Regions from separate parts of the Homo sapiens genome. Here regions 2, 3, 4 and 5 are each linked to region 1. Evidence: promoter capture Hi-C in human tissues and cell types (Jung and others, 2019). All regions are on one chromosome and are shown on one strand. The core of a region is centred on a gene start or on the middle of the fragment in contact, and the rest is flanking DNA. Distances in the headings are between cores, read along the strand shown. Region 1 holds the start of SYT1 (synaptotagmin 1). Region 2 has its middle 100 kb from the start of LINC02424. Region 3 overlaps NAV3 (neuron navigator 3). Region 4 overlaps NAV3 (neuron navigator 3). Region 5 overlaps SYT1 (synaptotagmin 1).

Region 1 (3,693 bases), core at 1,194-3,693:
TTCCTTTTTGTACATCTTTTCATGTCTAAACTTGTTAATTCAGTTGTACATACATGTGAGGTAATTAAGTGATTGTCCCTTTGTCCTTGTAACCAAAAGGTGGCACCTCTAAAAACCAGAGTTAGCTTTCAACAGAGACACTATTTTTTTTTTTTTTTCATTTAAATGTCAAAGCCCTAGAAAGAAAATCGTTTTTCGTGACTTGGTAATTCTATTTAGGGAGAGATCATTGCCTCAAATGCAAAATGGTTTGGAAAATAGTACACATTACACTGATGGCAAATGAATTCAGCTCTTCTCTAAGTTGGTGTGTAAACTTATATATTAAACGTACGTAGTGAAAAAATACTCTCTGAGATACAAAATTAGTGTGGAAGGTCAGACACAGTTAAGATAGAAGATTCTCTTTTCTTATATCAAGTGGAGTTCTAGACAAAAAAAAGTAAGACTCTGCATTTCCCCTGATAAATAAAAAGAAGTGTTTTGTATACTAACATCTGTGGATTTCTCTGTGTTCAGGTAAGACCCACTTGGAATGCTTTCCTATTACATCAAACGAGGCATTTCTCTATACCTCCTTCCATCTGACAGTACTATCGCTTAGCTGTCCCTGAAGAATAATAAGAAAAGAAAGCTTATATCCCCAATGATGGAATTAGAGACTGCTGAAGCTGCTGTAAAGGCTCTGTCCAACAAGTACCATTTACTTGACCTATTATGCAGGCAGCCAGGGGCATGTTGGTGTTTTGATATATTTTTCTTTCTTTTAACAAGACGTTACAAAAATGTTTTCCCCTTCAGGATTTTTAAAATTTAGGGTATCTTTCTAGCATTACTTTCTAAACTTAGTTCCAGTACAGGAGGATTCTTGTCCAACTGAGCCTCCATGTGCCTTCTAAAGGGAGTGCTGAAATTGTATAAACATCATGTTTACATCCATTAAATATTGTCCTATTAAAAGAAAATAAAGCCAGGCATAAGTTTGGTATCCAGACAATAAAATGCAAATAGTACAAAGGTAGAATAAAGTGAAAATTCTACACAAATGTAGCTTCCATACAAAAGTTAAACAGTTGCTTTATTTCACGAAAGGGTTAATACTGGAGAAAGTGAATATCAACATGTACACAAAGCTAACTAGAAGATTAGCTTTCTCAAAGTAGAAATCCAAGCCTCCCTATAAAATTGTTGTCCCTTGCAAATGTTTTGAAACTTTACATTTTTTGATCCCCCAACAACAGGCCATACCAAGAAACCTCAGGAAAGTAATAATCTATTTTAATTGTTTTTTTTTTTTTGTTACTCAAGAAAGCTTTCAAAGTTCAGATATTAACACTGATGTGCAATACCAAATTGTTAGCCCCACAGGACAGATGGAAACAGGAAAAGTCAGATGGTTGGCACTCAAAAGCAAAAGCAATTAAGCAGTTGAAAGTGGGTTGGATTGTCGGTTTATTTTTGTTCCATTTGAACGAATCAAGTGAGAGACATAGACTCTTGCAAGGAGGAAATCAAGTCAAACTTGACGCTTCCTCTCTCTGACAGCCCAAGCTGGACTGGTTGTCTACTCCCCTTATTCAGTTTAATTGCTTTATGTGCTCTGATTTTCGCAGAGCTTGTATTCTATCTTGTTTACGTTCCCCCCCCCCCCCATATCCCTCTCCCCAACAGAAAGAAATCTTTCTCCTTTCTTCACTCCCCCTCTTTCCTCTAAGAAAGGCAATCCTCTCCAGGAGGAGAAAGAAACGCTGTGCGTGCTTAGGGTGGGAGGAGGGCGAGAGGGGAGGTGTGGGAGAGAAAGAGAGAAAAGATTGAGATTGGGGGTGGGGGACGGAGGAGAGAGAACAAGAGAAGGAAAGAGGAAGCAAGAAGATGGGGGATGCCCAACATCAACTCCAGGCTCTAAATCACGGGCGCTGTGCAAAGTGCTTTTCCAGGAGATGCACATGTAGTCTCATATTTCTCACAATAGGCCACCCGGGGATCCCTCCCTAGGTCTCAGACTCCCACCACTAAAACCCAAGTGTATCGAGAAGAAAATCTTTGGGATGGATTCGAGCAGATAGGCACCGCCGAGGTGGCCGCGCCGCCAGTCCCGCTTCCTTACCTGGAGGGCGGACCGGGAGGTGGTGCCGGGTCTCGGTCCCCAGTGCTCTCCCCGCGTGGACCGGCGCGAGGCACACGCGTACTCTCGCTGCCTCCGCTCTTGGAGGGGCAGCCTGCAACACAAAAGGGGTGTGTGGGTGTGGGTGTGTGGGAGGTTTTCCAGGGCCACCAGCTGGTCCCACGTGGTCGCCCCCACCCTACACACACCCCTTCGGGGCGCCAAGCCCCCCTCTCGGCTGAGCACCACCCTGGGGACTTGCCCGGGGTGCAGCCTCAAGTTGCCGCTGCTAACTGCTGCTGCCGCTGCCGCTGCTGCAGGAGGAGGTGGAAAGACACTGGGGGCAGTACTCGGTCTAGAGCATCCCCACACTGCAGCTTCTCCAGGAATCCCTCCAGTGAGGAGGCGGCCGCCCATCATCTCCGAGCCCCAGCATCCTGATTGGCTCCACCTCGGGTACGCTGCGCCAAGGAGCCAATCCCCGCGCACTAATAATAGGTGGATCCGTTCAGCCAACATCGCCCATCCCAGTTCTGTTAGTGTCTCTCCATCCCCACAGCGGACAGGGACCTGGGAAGCGGGGTGGAGGCGGGTTGGGGGAGGGGGTGAAGTAAGAGGGGAACAGATCCCAAGGAGACACAATCAAGGGCGTCTGATAAAACCTCTAGGTAGACTCAGGAATGCCCCACAAGCTGTTCAGCAAGCAGTATGCACAGGAGAAAGAGAGCATAATACAAAGCTTTTTTTTTTTTTTTTTTACTCTCAATCAAAACCTACCCTGATACTGAGCATGCCCAGACTGCAACAGCGACCTAGGAGTTTCGATGTGTGTGGGTTCGCCAGCTGTGGGTTTTTGAAAAGCTGGGACCGGGGACAGGAGAGGTAGAAGTTTGTCTTTGGCCATTTAACCCGGCGGAGTTGTGAAAGCTGGGTAGGGTGGGGATGTGAAAGGGTTCCGCACAAGTGTCCTCAAACTGAGCCGCGGGGAGGTGGCCCACCTGGCTGCCGGAGGCTCATCATGCTGTTCTTCTGGGGTTCCGGGTTGGAAGCGGGGGCGGGATAAGCTGAGCTTTGCTGGAAGCCTGGGGACTTCCCGCGAAGGGTGCGGTGGAGCCGAGATGCGGGAGAAGCAGCTCCGTCCCATAGGTGGGGCCGGGAGCGCGACTCCACCCATCAGCGGCGGCTGCCAGGCCGTGGAGAGTGCACTGGGAGTTTCCATTGCAGCGACCAATAAGTTTGTACACTTGGGTCAAGTGCAACATTGTTGGAGATGCTTTTTTATTTTTTCATTTTTATTTTTTGCCACCTCCCTCCCCCATCTCTCTCGACCCCTTGCCAGAGCAGTGACGACTAAAGCATAGATTCTCTCCCTGCTTCCTCTCTTCCCAGCTGAACCGTTCTGCTCGGAAGTAAGAAGCTTTTCTCTTGTGAGGGCGGTGGTGACCTGATTGTCTCTAAGCTCTCAGGCAATTTATAGCTTGGTAATACCGAAATACCGAACAGGAAGGCTCAGCGGGTGGGGGAAGGGACCGCGCGCCAGGCTAGGGGCGGGAGCGGAGCCCAGCTGGGAGAGGGGCCCGTCCATTATC
Region 2 (3,834 bases), core at 1,004-3,503, 610 kb after region 1:
TATAAAATCCAAAGTACGATTGTATCTAACTGTGGCCATGTCAGGAACTTGCCTCCAGGATTAAGGTAACTAGCCCTTCTTCTCAAGTCAGAGTTGACTACAAATACATATTGAACGCTATCTATGTGCTAGGCACTGTCTAAGCAGCATAAAATAGATGAGAAATTGTCTCTGCCCTTTTGGCATTTACAGTTTAGGGAAGAGCATAGACATTAACATTAAACCAATTATCTAAAAACTTTTGAAATAGTAAAATTGAACACAGGTGACATATTAAATGCAGAACCCAACTAATTTTTAGAGAATAGTAAAGGCTTCATAGGAGAAGGGATGGTGAGGTTGAAATCTAAAGAACAAGGAGAAAATAGTTAGACAAGTGCTGCTATCAGCATTAAATTCTTACAACTGTGTTTAAATCACTTGGTATAACTGCATCATTCTTCCATCAGTCTCTTTTGACTACTCATAAGTTTTTTTTTTTTTTACAGACCTAAAATATACGTGACTTCAAATCTGGATATTACATAAACATACACATGTCTCTGTTGTTAAAATGGATAATCTAATTGACTTAGTCTGGTCTTTGGAGGCTTTGGCTTCTATTAGGTGCCACTAATGGCCTAATCAACTTGAGGCAAGATTTGTTGGGGAGGTGGAGCAGGGAGTATCTTGAAGCAAATGTCTTTGGCTGTGGTCAGGGAGGATAAGCAAAAAGAAAATGTGAATTGTAGCAGGTGAACTGATTGGCATGTCTAGGATACAGGTGTTTTTGTGCACACACATATGCAGTCAATCATGGGCAGTATGCCCTGTCACTTCTCATTGGTCATGAAAAGTTGTACACACACTAATCCAGCTCCCTGTGTGGTTACTGGACCTGTAGCTGTATCCGAGAAATGGCCAGAGGCACCATTAGATTGTGGCTATAGAAATAAATATGACTCCCTTGGGAAAGATACTTATGACTTTAGTTTGACTAGCTCTGCTCTCTAACCCTCTATGACTTACTATTGCTGCATTGAAAATAATTATGTTGTTCTCGGGGTTCCAAGATGGCTGAATAGGAATAGCTCCAGTCTACAGCTCCCAGCGACACAGAAGACGCATGACTTCTACATTTCCAACTGAGGTACCAGGTCATCTCACTGGGGCTTGTTGGACAGTGGGTGCAGCCCACGTAGTGTGAGCCAAAGCAGGGCAGGGCATTGCCTTACCCGGGAAGCACAAAGGGTCAGGGAGTTCCTTTTCCTAGGCAAGGGAAGCTGTGACAGACGGTACCTGGAAAATCGGGACACTCCCACCCTAATACTGCACTTTCCCAGTGGTCTTAACAAACGGCACACCAGGAAATTATATCCTGTGCCTGGCTCAGAGGGGCCCGCACCCATGGAGCCTTGCTCACTGCTAGGACAGCAGTCCAAGATTGAACTGCAAGGCAGCAGTGAGGCTGGGGGAGGGGCGTCCATCATTGCTGAGGTTTGAGTGGGTAAACCAAGCGGCCACAAAGCTCGAACAGGGTGGAGCCCACCACAGCTCAAGGAGGCCTGCCTGCCTCTGTAGACTCCACCTCTGGGGGAAGGGCATAGCTGAACAAAAGGCAGCAGAAACTTTTGCAGACTTAAACATCCCTGTCTGAGAGCTCTGAAGAGAGCAGTGGTTCTCCCAGCACGGTGTTTGAGCTCTGAGAACAGAGACACTGCCTCCTTAAGTGGGTCTCTGACCCCTGAGTAGCCTAACTGGGAGAAACCTCCCAGTAAGGGCCAAATGACACCTCATAATCCAGGTGCCCGCCTGAGACGAAGCTTCCAGAGGAAGGATCAGGCAGCAACATTTGCTGTTCTGCAGCCTCCGCTGGTGATACCCAGGCAAACAGGGTCTGGAGTGGGCCTACAGCAAACTCCAACCCACCTGCAGCTGAGGGTCCTGACTGTTAGAAGGAAAACTAATAAACATAAAGGACATCCACACCAAAACCCCATCTCTAGGTCACCATCATCAAAGACCAAAAGGTAGATAAAACCACAAATATGGGGAGAAACGAGAGCAGAAAAGCTGAAAATTCCAAAAATCAGAGCTCCTCTTCTCCTACAAAGGAATGCAGCTCCTCGCCAGCAACAGAACAAAGCTGGATGGCGAATGACTTTGACAAGTTGACAGAAGTAGGCCTCAGAAGATCAGTAATAACAAACTTCTCTGAGCTAAAGGAGGATGTTTGAACCGATAGCAAAGAAGCTAAAAACCTTGAAAAAAGATTAGACAAATGGCTAACTAGAGTAAACATCATAGAGAAGACCTTAAATGACCTGATGGAGCTAAAAACTACGGCACAAGAACTACATGACACATGCACAAGCTTCAGTAGCCAATTTGATCAACTGGAAGAAAGGTTATCAGTGATTGAAGATCAAATGAATGAAATGAAGCAAGAAGAGAAGTTTAGGGAAAAAAGAATAAAAAACGAACAAAGCCTCCAAGAAATATGGGACTATGTGAAAAGACCAAATCTATGTCTGATTGGTGTACCTGAAAGTGACGGGGAGAATGGAACCAAGTTGGAAGACACTCTGCAGGATATTATCCAGGAGAACTTCCCCAACCTAGCAAGGCAGGCCAAAATTCAAATTAAGGAAATACAGAGAACGCCACAAACATATTCCTTGAGAAGAGCAGCTCCAAGACACATAATTGTCAGATTCACCAAAGTTGAAATGAAGGAAAAAATGTTAAGGGCAGCCAGAGAGAAAGGTCGGGTTACCCACAAAGGGAAGCCCATCAGACTAACAGCTGATCTCTCCTCAGAAACTCTACAAGCTAGAAGAGAGTGGGGGCCAATAGTCAACATTCTTAAAGAAAATAACTTTTTGGGAGGCTGAGGCAGGAGAATGTCGTGATCCCAGGAGGTGGAGCTGGCAGTGAGCCGAGATCACACCACTGCACTCTAGCCTGGGTGACAGAGCAAGACTCTGTCTCAAAAAAAAAAAAAAAAAAAAAATTTCAACCAAGAATTTCACATCCAACCAAAGTAAGCTTCATAAGTGAAGGAGAAATAAAATCCTTTACAGAAAAACAAATGCTGAGAGATTTTGTCACCACCAGGCCTGCCCTGAAAGAGCTCCTGAAGGAAGGACTAAACATGGAAAGGAACAACTGGTACCAGCCACTGCAAAAACATGCCAAATTGTAAAGACCATCGAGGCTAGGACGAAACTACACCAACTAACGAGCAAAATAACCAGCTAACATCATAATGACAGGATCAAATTCACACATAACAATATTAACCTTAAATGTAAAAGGGCTAAATGCTCCAATTAAAAGACACAGACTGGCAAATTGGATAAAGAGTCAAGACCCATCAGTGTGCTGTATTCAGGAAACCCATCTCACATGCAGAGACACACATAGGATCAAAATAAAGGGATGGAGGAAGATCTACCAAGCAAATGGAAAACAAAAAAAGGCAGGGGTTGCAATCCTAGTCTCTGATAAAACAGACTTTAAACCAACAAAGATCAAAAGAGACAAAGAAGGCCATTACATAATGGTAAAGGGATCAATTCAACAAGAAGAGCTAACTATCCTAAATATATATGCACCCAATACAGGAGCACCCAGATTCATAAAGCAAGTCCTGAGTGACCTACAAAGAGACTTAGACTCCCACACATTAATAATGGGAGACTTTAACACCCCACTGTCAACATTAGACAGATCGATGAGACAGAAAGTCAACAAGGATATCCGGGAATTGAACTCAGCTCTGTACCAAGCAGACCCAATAAACATCTACAGAACTCTCCACCCCAAATCAACAGAAGATACATTCTTTTCAGC
Region 3 (3,387 bases), core at 681-3,180, 690 kb after region 1:
GAAGGGATGAATCAGTAAGCTCTTCAATGTCAGAATGTGATGAAGGAGGCTTGGTGGACTTTTTCTTCCCAAAGGCTTGTTTGAAAGAACTTCTCAGCTGAAACAAGGACAGAAATTACCCTTCTTGTCTATTTGCACTTGGAGAGCTTTTGCTTTGGGGCGTTAGTTTGCAGATGCCATCCTAGCCACTGCCTGGGGTCAGTATGTACAAGCAGAGTATTAACAATTGCAGCACAGTATCTCTAAAAAAAAAATGATACCGTGTTTTGTGTGTTCATTTTATTCTTGTATTAATCCAGCGCAGCGCAAACATGGAAGGCTTTTAAATAGTGCAAGGTCAAGGGCATGGCTGTCAGAGCACTCATTTAAAACTAAGTACCTTGAAGGGATCTCCATTCCCAATGCTTCTCTCTTCAAGGCAATTTGTTTTAAATGGCCACTTTAGCGCTACAATCAAGTCATGTCCTGCTGACAGTACAAACTTAAAAAGCAAAATGAAATCAAATTCACCTAACACTTCATTAATTGTGATTTTTCTATTCAAATTTTCCAACCCCAGACTACTCAAAACCAGAATTGGTATCCCCTACAGCTCTATTCAGAAAGTGGTTTTACATCTCTTTAAAATTTGAGATTAAAATGAAAAGACACAAAGAAAAGACATACAAGGTAATCTGTTTTAAAAGGTATAAAAGCCTACTGCCAAAATGGATAGCATTCATGCCAAGGTAGGGTTTTTTTATAGATGCATGCCAAATTGTCCACGGTTTATATTCACCTCACTTCCTCTAGAGTTCACCTTGCAGAAACATGAAAGAGTGTGGAATTACAAATCAAGGGAATGAAGGCTGATCAGTATTTTAAAATATTACCTGTATAAACATTTTTTAAGATAAAAAGATATTTCTTTCATTATTTGTAGAAAGCACTCCAGTAAAATCCTCTGATAATTATGTCTGGATTTCATCAAGAGTTGTATTTACTCAAAATCTACATTTTTTTTTTGGTATTAAAAGAAATCATTGACTCCATTGTTTTTAAATTTTTCGCAGTAACAGTATCTTCCCCTGGGCTATTTAGCTATTGATCAATATCATAAATTATATCACTAGCAAACTTAAGGTACAGTTCTGTTAAAGTGCATTTCTATATTTCTGCTATATTCTCTTGGTTAAAAACATCAAGCAGACACTAATGTGGTTGATTTCTTTTAGGGTGAAACTATTCACACGGTAAGCCCTGTCGATTCCAAAGGTGGAATGAGAGTTTCATTGTTTATTCTTTCCCTTTATTAACTCCCATTCTCCTTTTCCTCCAAGACCACTATCACCATCATCATCACCATCATCATCATTTTTTCACTTTTCCTTCATCTCTATGCCCACAATAAACCCCTATTTTAAGCCATTTATTCACAGATGTTATCTTATTTTTCTTTAGTATAACTCTATAGTTATACTACATAGTTTGTATAGTTATACTATAGAAAAATTAGATAACATCTGTGAATAAATGATATTCACAAATAAATATAGTTGCTATTAACTGTCTTTTTATTGGTTAGAAAATTCAGGCCCCTCAAAAGGTCTAGATATAGTGGTGATTCAAACCCAAGTTTAGTCCCAACATTAAAATGTATGCTTTTCAGTACATGCCACTCCAATTTTGGTGATGAGTGCAGCATTTGAGGTCTCAGTAGCTTGAATGGGACCCTTTGTAAACTACTGCAGATCACTAAAGCCCCAAAGAAAAAGGCCTAACACATTATGCATTAATAAGCTTCTGAATTAGATGAAGGATGGTAACTTACCCAGTTTTTCTTTTTCTTCTTCTTGGAGTCGGCATCATTACCACTGCCAATACTGGAATGGCTTGTGGCACTGTTGATACTAGAAACACTTTCAGAGGAATGCTGTCTTCTGATGCGAAGATCTAGCAATAGAGGGAGAGTATCACATCGGCTCATGAAGAGTCTCGATCTGAACAAATAAGTCTTTTAGGTCTTTTGAGAGGCAGTTCTCTAATAAAGGTCAACAAGGCTTTGTACAGATAATTTCAATGCAGTTTTGACTTTAGAAGTTTAATAAAGTACAACCATATTTGTTTTAATTAACTGAGTTATCTACATTAAGATTTAATGAGAATCTCATATAAGTCCATAGCCCTGGCAGTTTAATGAGTTCTCAGTTTTGTCTAAAATTAAATGCTATGCTAGTGATTTCTACTGAATACCTGGATCAAGCAGCTCTTCCAAAATGATTTATTCTGAATGATTAATTTAAAAGAGTAAATGGAAACTCAGAATGAGAATTAATTGTGCTTTTTAATATTTGTGCTTCAAATACAGTTACTAGAGCCAAATGTATTAACTTTCCATTTCATAGAATCATACCATATTAGAGCCAAAACAAAACCTGAAGTCATGTAAGCACATAATCTCACAGATGAGGAAACTGAAGTGAAAAGAAGTTAAGTAACTTGGCCAAAGTCAAACAGCCAATGAAAGGCAGATCCTCCAAAGAAAGCCTAGGTAGACTGAGTTTGTGAGTTAAACAGAGGACATATTTAAGACAGTGCAATTCTTCCAATGTACCCCTACTGCCTGCCCATGACTTATTATAGAATAGTAATAGTAATACCAATAACAAATAATAATCAAACTAGGTTTTACAATATGCTTGATATGCCCCCGGAGTACCTAATTTTATTCTTAAAGCAAACTACTGAAATGAGTTTAATTACTAAATGTAACTTTCACATGGTCACATAGCTGAAAAATAGTGGAGCCAGTCTCAGCCTTAGGCTGTTTCTAATATCCATTGTGTTAAAAGCCATGTACGCAGCATATGGTATGGCCTTGCTTAACTTCTAAGAGCAGGCAGTGCTTCTTTAGTTAAGATATTTTGAAGAGAATAGCATTTGATATTTAATCATGTTAAAGGTATCTGTTTCTTTTATACAAGCAACTATAAGATTTATAGTTATTTAAAATAAAACAAACTGAAAATTTTCCTACCTAAAATGCACTAGTATTAAGTATTACTGAGACACTAAGAAAATTTACAAAATTGTGCTTCAAGTCACATTTGCTTTTAGTCCATTTCCGTTAATATACTTATTGGCATCAAGGCAGATTAGTCAAGCAAAAAAATCTCAGTGGAAGTTGTAAGATGTCAAAATTTACTATAAAGCTGACAGTTTCCAAAAAACTAATACCATAAAATCAAGCCTCTTCAATTGACTGATTTACTGAATAGTAAAAATGATCCATGGCAACAAAACTATAACTGGTTGCTTTCAAAACGTATAATAAATGAGTATGTATGGATTGATAGACATGTAATATATGTATTTACCTACATATATATGTGTGTGTGTATATGTGTA
Region 4 (3,794 bases), core at 401-2,900, 670 kb after region 1:
TTTCTATTGAGCTAATCACATAAAATAAATCTTGCCTAAGTCAGAGAATGCAGAAAAAAATATGTTTAAAACTGTTGAATATTCTGGAGAATTCTATTTACTTCAAAAGAAAAAATAAAATTTATGTCACTAATTTAGCTACATTAAGTCATTCATTCGTTTATAAAATATGCACTGTCTATCTACTGCGTTCATAGCCTTAGACCAAGCCCTGGGTATACAAAAATAGTGAAGTCTGATTCCTGCTATCAATGGAGTTTAAGTAGGTTTAACATTTATTATGAACTGCATCAAGTACTTTTCCGGACATGAGGACTAAAAAGGGTAATCAGGCTGGTTTCCCCTGCAAGCTCTAAGAGTTGTCACATTAGGGACTGGAATTTAAATGTTACAAATGATATCAATATAATATCATAAATATATTATGAGATATGAGAAGTCAAGGGAAGAGATTTAGCCTAGCTGCTGGGTGTCAAGAATGGTTTTCTGGAGGAGGTAACACTGGAGCCTGAGTGGGGTGGTAGGCACACATGTAAATAATGATGAATTTACAAAATGCAAGGTAAAACATTCCATGAGAGAGGATAAAGGAGGCATGTGGCCTATAGGAGGGAAAGAGATTAATTCCAACTGGCACATCCTGCTGGCACCAGGGATTTAGAGATAAAACATAATTTCTGTCTTTCAGAAACTTAGAGTTGATAAGCAGAGAAGCTGGTGAGCAAGTGATTCACAATACAGTGTGCTAAGTGAAATGCACAAAACATTATAGGGAGACATAAGAGAGGCATCTAATCCAGACTTAAGGTTCACAGAAAAACAGAGTACAGTGGTTAAAAGGGAAAAAAAAGCAAATAATAATAATAATAATAAAAAGGATTGAAATCTAAAGAATAAAAAGTGAAACCTGAAAAGTGTAAGTGTATGATGTGTTTTGGGAAATAAGTGTTCTGTGGTTATAGAAAAATATAGTACATGCTACTGGTGGTGGCAATAAAAAAGAAAAAAAGACTTTGAATCCATGCAGAAGAAGTTGCATTTTATTATATAAAGAAGTGTGGAACATTGATATGTTTGTTTGCTTCTTTGTTTTCAGTAGAGGAAAGCAATTTATTTATCCAAGGAAACAGAAATGTGAAAGATAGAAGAATTAATTAGAAAAGGAAATAGCATTTAAGAAGCTTATTACCTTCCTGGAATAGAAGGTCAGGCATATACATATATAACAATAATTCACAGTCAAAATAATACACTACTTCAAAAAAGTATAGATCAAAGATTTTGTTTATAGTATGTAAAGATTGATTGTAGCGTCTGGAAAATGTACTGTGGTGGCAGTATGATTTGCTATTATTCCCTTATTTTAAAGATTGGGTAATACCTTGATGCTTAAACACAACAGAAGAGCTTTCCAAATAGAGAAGAATAACCAGTCAGAAACACGAAAATATGATATCCATGTAGGAAAAAAGCTAAGAATATGTGTTTTGTGAAAGGAAATGGTGGTAATGAAATTGTAAAGGAAACTGCAACCTTAAATGATTAGTAAGATCGCTGGACATCTCCTTTTGGCAGTGAAGAAACATTCTTCTGGTGACCTGAGTAAGTAGTCACAATGGTGATTTAACATGTGGTGAGCATATTGAAAGGAAGAAGCAAGACCAGCCAAGAGAATGTTGAAATTATTGAAGCCTAGAGATACTAAGGGACTGAACAAGGAACAACGTGATGTTTTTGATGTAGTACAGAAATCTATAAGAAAACATTGAAAAATTTGATCAGATTTTAATTATGAAAAGATATTCTATGTTCCATGAGGTGAATGAATATATCCCAAAAAAAGAGAGAAGGGAAATTTAAAGGAAATCGTGTATCAAGTAGTTAAAAAATAATTGTAGAAATCCAAGAAACAACAGAGGAGGATGTTAATCTGGGGTGGAGGGTGGTTTTGTTGGAAAGCAATGGAAGAGGATAAACTTATAATATGTGTTTGGGGCTGAAATTGTCAATTCTCAACAGGTATATTTAGTAGGTGAATAGAAACATATGTGTAGGATGATAGAAAGCTTACAAATTTGGGAGAATGGGCATGGCTGATAGTGTTTAATTGAAGTCAACCACACAAGTCAAGCCAAGTTGAAGCCACAAGAGTCATCCAAAGGAGAATAAAAGTGAGAGAGAACAGAATAGTTCATTATAAAGAAAAACAGTTTCATTTACTGGGAAGTGAAGGAAGAGCAGAGAGAAAAAAACTGAAAAGCAATTTACCAGGGAGCAGGAAACAAGGAGAAAATGATAACATGAATGTCAGAAAGAGAGAGAGAGAGTGGGGAGGCACAAAGGAATTGAGTTTTGTAATTAGCAGGTCACTGGGTCATTTTTGGACAATCAGAGCCTTTAGGTTCTAATTATAATGTGGCTTTCTTTCATCTTGAGAGGGTAGTGGATCCCCTGGGAATCTGATGGTAGGTATAAAGCAATGGATGTAGAAACAGGCAAACATAAATAAACTTTTTTCCTATAACTTAGAGGAGTTTTTCACAGATTCCCTTGAAATAACTTCATGATACCCACTCTAGCTTGATGAAAATGAAATCTTAGATTGAGGCACTGATGCACCGGCATTAAAAGTCTTTTTTCCAGATCTAGTCAGGTAGAAGGAAACAGGCATATCTACCAGATGGGAGTTGGCAATGAGATGAATCCCATACTCTGAAACTACAGGTGGAACACCACAGTTACATAAAAATGGTAGATCACTGCTTTCTCAGATGCTGACTCCAGACACACTAAAAAGGAATCTATCAGGTACAGTTTTCTGATCTTTTCCAGCCTAACATTCCAAATGGCTTCAGCTGACCATGTATTCTCTACTAAATCCACCTCTAGCCCTCTGGGCCTACTATATCGAATGTCACAAAGTGTAATTGTTTATGTGTACTGCTCTCAATCAAAATATTCCAGCTGGCAGCTTGAGGGAGGGCTTGAAGTGTGGGAAGAGGAACAGAATGTAAAGTGCAGAGGTACTGAAAACATGAAAAGATGTTTTTCATTTGATGATTTGTGGTTTGAGTTTCTTCTTTTTTTCTGAATCAGTAAGTGCTTTTTGGATTTGTCTCTTCAGTGCTATCTATGGCACAGCATAAAATGCGTCAGCATTTACACAGCTCCAGGTTTTCAGGAACAGGATTTATTATTTCATGCCTCATTATCATGTTACTTCAGTAAATCTACACTGTTGGTATCCCTAACACAATCTCAACTTGTCATCCCCTCTTTTTTTATATTTATCCTCACTTACCCTCACCCCCAACTCCCAGGAAAATAGTGGGTATTCTCTGTCAATTTGGCAAAAATTGTCCAAATTTTCTGGCAACGAGTTTGTATTCAGCATTACTGATAGCTTGTTCATATCTTCAAACCATAAGGAATAACATAAAAAATAAATATTTTTTAGTTATAATTTGTGTTTTCTTGGGAATGAATGCTATTGTGATTTGTTCAAGAGTTTCTTTCTGGGCTGGGCACAGTGGCTCATGCCTGTAATCCCAGCATTTTGGGAGGCCGAGGCAGGTGGATCACGAGGTCAGGGGATTGAGACCATCCTGCTAACACAGTGAAACCCCGTCTCTACTAAAAATAAAAATTAAAAAAATTAGCTGGGTGTGGTGGTGGGCACCTGTAGTCTCAGCTACTCAGGAGGCTGAGGCAGAAGAATCGCTTGAACCCAGGAGGCAGAGGTTGCAGTGAGCCGAGATCGTGCCACTGTACTCCAGCTTGGGCAACAGAGCAAG
Region 5 (3,878 bases), core at 685-3,184, 520 kb before region 1:
AGGGAGGAAGTGGAAATACAAGAATGTTTTGGTCAAGGATGAACCACATGTTCTATGGTGGTCCTGTAAGATTATAATGATGTGTTTTAAATGTACCTTTTCTATCTTTAGATACACAAATACTTACTTACCTTTGTGTTTCCACTGCTTACAATATTCAGTACAATAATATTCTCTAAAGGTTTGTAGCCTTGGAGCAATAGGCTATACCCTATAGCTTAGGTATGTAGCAGGCTACAACACCTAGGTTTGTGCAAATACACTCTATGAAGTTCACACAACAATGATGAAATTGCCTAACTGTGCATTTCTCAAAACATACCTGTATCCCACGTGACTGTATATGTGTCTGTTCCACAAAGCACTATAAGGCCTCTATTAGCATGTCATGCCAATAAATATTTCAACAGTTACGTTTAGGTGTGGATAAACTTCCTTCGAGCATTCATAGAAGACATGGCAAACAAGCCTAGATTTATTATCTACAGTTTCACACACGACACAGACTACTTGGGAGAAAAGTTTATGTTGTATGAGCAGTCAAGAAATGCCTGCCTTTTTACAATATTTGAGTTTGTTTAGTAATTCAAAGTGGGGACTGCACTATATTTTTATATTTCATCACAATCCAAGAATCTCTACTCAGCGTTTGGAGCACGTAACATTTGCCATCATTTAAAAAGTGAAAAACCTAGCTTTCTTCCAAATTCCCATAGGTGTAGCAGGACTAAGAGGTAAGCACTGAAACCACATCATTTAATAAGATGGATCATTTCAAGAAGGGCAGTACGTGTACACTATCGCATTTTTGTAAAAGCTTCATTTAGTTTTTCTTTTCTTTTTTTTAACTTCCTTTCCTCTCTGGACTCTCTGATTTTCTGTCTTTTTTACCCCTAGTATATATTCTTTATTATCTATTAGTAAATAACAAGGGGAAAAAATCATTGCCCCTTTTTCCTGGCAAACTCAATTAGGTTACGGGAGAAGGGAGAAGAGTGCATGTGTTTGTGTATTTTTGAATATAAATTCCTTGAAGTCAGGATACCTCCTAAACATTATCCAGAATTGTGTAGGAACTTGAATCTGACTTAGCTGGGGAAAATAGTCTTTCAGGGAATGAAGTATCATACAGAAAGCAGCACTCTCTTTCACACTAGGGATCAACTTTAGAGCATTATAGGCAAAGGCATCATATTTTCAAGAAATGCCTTCCACTTCAACCTGAGAAGTCTCTTACCATTTAGTCACTTCCCTAAAGCAACAGACTCGCACGACTGAGAATCACTGTGTCATTTTCATCTGTAGCGTTTCTTTAACCAGGGGTGGGTACCCTGACGACTGATTGAAAAACACGTTGACTAAAATGGTCTTAATAAGCATACCGCATGACCTTCCTCCCCCGTGGTCTCATCAGCAGGCAATAAACTAGGCTCATCATGCTCCATTCTCACGTAAAAACCTATCTGTCAGGGAAGTAATTACCTAGCCAGATAGACGCCCCTCTGAGGCAAGCCCAGAAATCATTATAATACTCTATAATTAGTGTTTATTATTTTATCTGTTCATGTCAGTAGAAGCACAAAAAAAGCACCCCTCAGCTGGACAATCCTATCCTAACAAGATGTAGAAAACATTAATGTAAAAGCTGCTCATTCTCTGCATTTTCTTTGCCATGGCAACTTAAAATCAGCTTGCTTCCACGCAATTTGTAGCTCAACCATGCTCCCTAACACTCACACAGCAGACCTGGAATTTCATCCAGGACTATCTAAATCTTTAGCCTGACAACAGGTGTAGGTATTATCTCGACAAAGACCTGAGTGATAAGCTCATTTTTCTCTACAGGTAAAAGTAGTACATTCAGGGCTTATTCTTGGCAGATGTTATTCTAACAGAAATTCAGAATTCAAATCCTTCAAACCCCCTGCTCTCCTGTGTCTAAGATGGGAAGTAAGTACACAGAGATGCCTCTTGCATTTCAATGAAGTGCTGTTAACTGGGCCTTGGCTTTTGTTGCTCTGTACTTTGTAACAGTGGTGGTCCTTTTATCTTTTTCAAGGGGATCTGATAACAATTATCTGATTCAACAGGAACTTGAGACAGTCTCAACTACAGAGTTTTACAAAGTTTAGGTGTACAGTTTTACCTTTGAAGAAAGAATGTGTTACTTTCAGGCAAGCAAGAGATGGATCTATAATCTTTCGAAAATGGAAATGGTTGTGTTTTAAAGTAGGAATCAGGGAATTCAGCATAATAATATAGTAGGCCATTCGTTGCCAATGTTTCAAGGAATAAAAACTACTAAATCCTAGGAGAAATTATGGTGGAGTAGCCAAAGGCATGGACTTCAGATTTCAGAGTCTCTAAGCCCTATCTGCAAATTGTTGATAATGACAGTATTACCTAGTTTTGTCGTAGGAATTAAATGAGGGAAAGATTGTCAAGTGTTTAGTATCACATATTGGTGCTAATTCTCTTTCCTGGGCTTGCACACTAGGACACAGGTTACACTCCTCTGTCTAAATTTGGAATCATACATATGGGGTTGCCATAGCTCAAGGAACCCCAGGAAACTCCTAGGGCTTCCAGGAAGGAAGAAGGCATGAATAGGTGTTTCTAGGAGGTGGAAGAATTGAGGGGAGGAGGACATTTTGCAAAGTCCACTTGGGGAATTGCAAGGGAAGCTTATTACAGTCCTTTTAAACAAGCCCTCTTCACTTTTAGGGAAGAACTTGTTTAGCTGGGCATGATGGCTCATGCCAGCAATCCCAGATACCTGGAAGGCTGAGGTGGAAGGATTGCTTGAGGCCAGGAGTTTGAGACCAGCCTGGGCAATATAGTGAGACCCCCATGTATTAAAAAAATTAGCAGAGCAGGGTGGTGTGTATCTGTAGTCCCGACTACTTGGGAGGCTGAGGCAAGAGGGGAGTTTCGAGGCTTCAGTGAGCTATGATCATGTAGCAGGCTACATCACCTAGGATGCAGCAGCCTGGGTGGCAGAGCAAAGTTCTGTCTCTAAAATAAATAAACAAAAAATTCTTCATCCCAGGCACAGCCAGATTTGCTGATTGTGAATAAGGTATAAATGGCAATGAATGTGCTTGAGGAACACACTCAAATTGCATCTTTGTCAGAGTCTCTCTAAACTCTGGGACTTGTTTTTCAGAGCATGCTAATTTGTTTCTGCAGTTAATATTTTCTCAAAATATCTAAATGACAGAAACTGCATTTTCTCTTATTTTTTGGTGGGGGTGGCAGTGGTGAAGAAATGTTGAAAGAAAAGCCAAGATTAGCTTTAAAATCTCTGGTTAATCTTCAAAAGAAATGGAATCTTTTTCAGTAAAATACGTCAATTCTAAAAGAAGGTTTCTAAAAATGTCAGATTGTTTCTGGAAAGGGGGTTTTAGAGCCACAAATCAGAAAAGATGACCCAAATGGAGTTAGAAGGCCTGGGTTAGATGATTGGTTCAGTTGCTTGCTCTCGGGTGTAACCTTCAGCAAATTATTTAATTTCCTTAGGCTTGTTTCCTCATCTTTTCAAGAAGGCAAATTAGTCGTAATAGTACATGTGAAGTATTAAGCACAGTAAGTAAACTCTCAGCAATATCTATAGTTTTTTATGCTCATAGTCTTTTATTTGGGTAATGAATTCCCTTAAATTACCTTATGGGTAATTTTAGTATCCTCTTAGTAAACATAGTTATCAAAGCTAGATTTCTATTGGATGATTGATTCTTCAGTATATAAACATATACACGATTACTACATGAAGAGGCAAAAGACAAAATGGAGATGTTTATTTGAAATCAAAGCTTTCAGGAGTTTGCTACTGAGCTTGGAAATAAAGATCTGAAGCAAATCCAAAAAGCTTGGCCTAA

What was found. Contacts are between HindIII fragments. The study calls those that stand out against the background at their distance.
Region 2: a fragment that was not itself captured here is called in contact with the fragment with the promoter of SYT1 in region 1 in 2 of the 25 tissues and cell types used here (dorsolateral prefrontal cortex and mesendoderm cells).
Region 3: a contact is called between a fragment that was not itself captured here and the fragment with the promoter of SYT1 in region 1, in 1 of the 25 tissues and cell types used here (dorsolateral prefrontal cortex).
Region 4: a contact is called between a fragment that was not itself captured here and the fragment with the promoter of SYT1 in region 1, in 3 of the 25 tissues and cell types used here (IMR-90 fibroblasts, dorsolateral prefrontal cortex and hippocampus).
Region 5: a fragment that was not itself captured here is called in contact with the fragment with the promoter of SYT1 in region 1 in 1 of the 25 tissues and cell types used here (dorsolateral prefrontal cortex).

The regions. Positions count from the first base shown.
Region 1 is chr12:78,863,524-78,867,216 of GRCh38, reverse strand. SYT1 (synaptotagmin 1) reads right to left here and starts at 2,443. Exons shown (of 11, transcript NM_005639.3): 1 at 2,108-2,443. RefSeq lists a silencer at 3,600-3,659. The HindIII fragment of the contact is 3,235 bases long and covers 2,079-3,693 here.
Region 2 is chr12:78,255,475-78,259,308 of GRCh38, reverse strand. No RefSeq gene overlaps it. Among named protein-coding and RNA genes, the nearest start is that of LINC02424, 100 kb to the left of the region's middle. The HindIII fragment of the contact is 3,437 bases long and covers 535-3,834 here.
Region 3 is chr12:78,173,851-78,177,237 of GRCh38, reverse strand. It overlaps NAV3 (neuron navigator 3), which reads right to left. Exons shown (of 40, transcript NM_001024383.2): 25 at 1,811-1,932; 26 at 779-799; 27 at 1-97. Among named protein-coding and RNA genes, the nearest start is that of LINC02424, 180 kb to the left of the region's middle. The HindIII fragment of the contact is 3,925 bases long and covers 1-3,387 here.
Region 4 is chr12:78,192,434-78,196,227 of GRCh38, reverse strand. All of the region lies in intron 34 of NAV3 (neuron navigator 3), which reads right to left. Among named protein-coding and RNA genes, the nearest start is that of LINC02424, 170 kb to the left of the region's middle. The HindIII fragment of the contact is 5,529 bases long and covers 1-3,794 here.
Region 5 is chr12:79,379,548-79,383,425 of GRCh38, reverse strand. All of the region lies in intron 9 of SYT1 (synaptotagmin 1), which reads right to left. Among named protein-coding and RNA genes, the nearest start is that of MIR1252, 38 kb to the left of the region's middle. RefSeq lists an enhancer at 1,735-2,333. The HindIII fragment of the contact is 3,813 bases long and covers 28-3,840 here.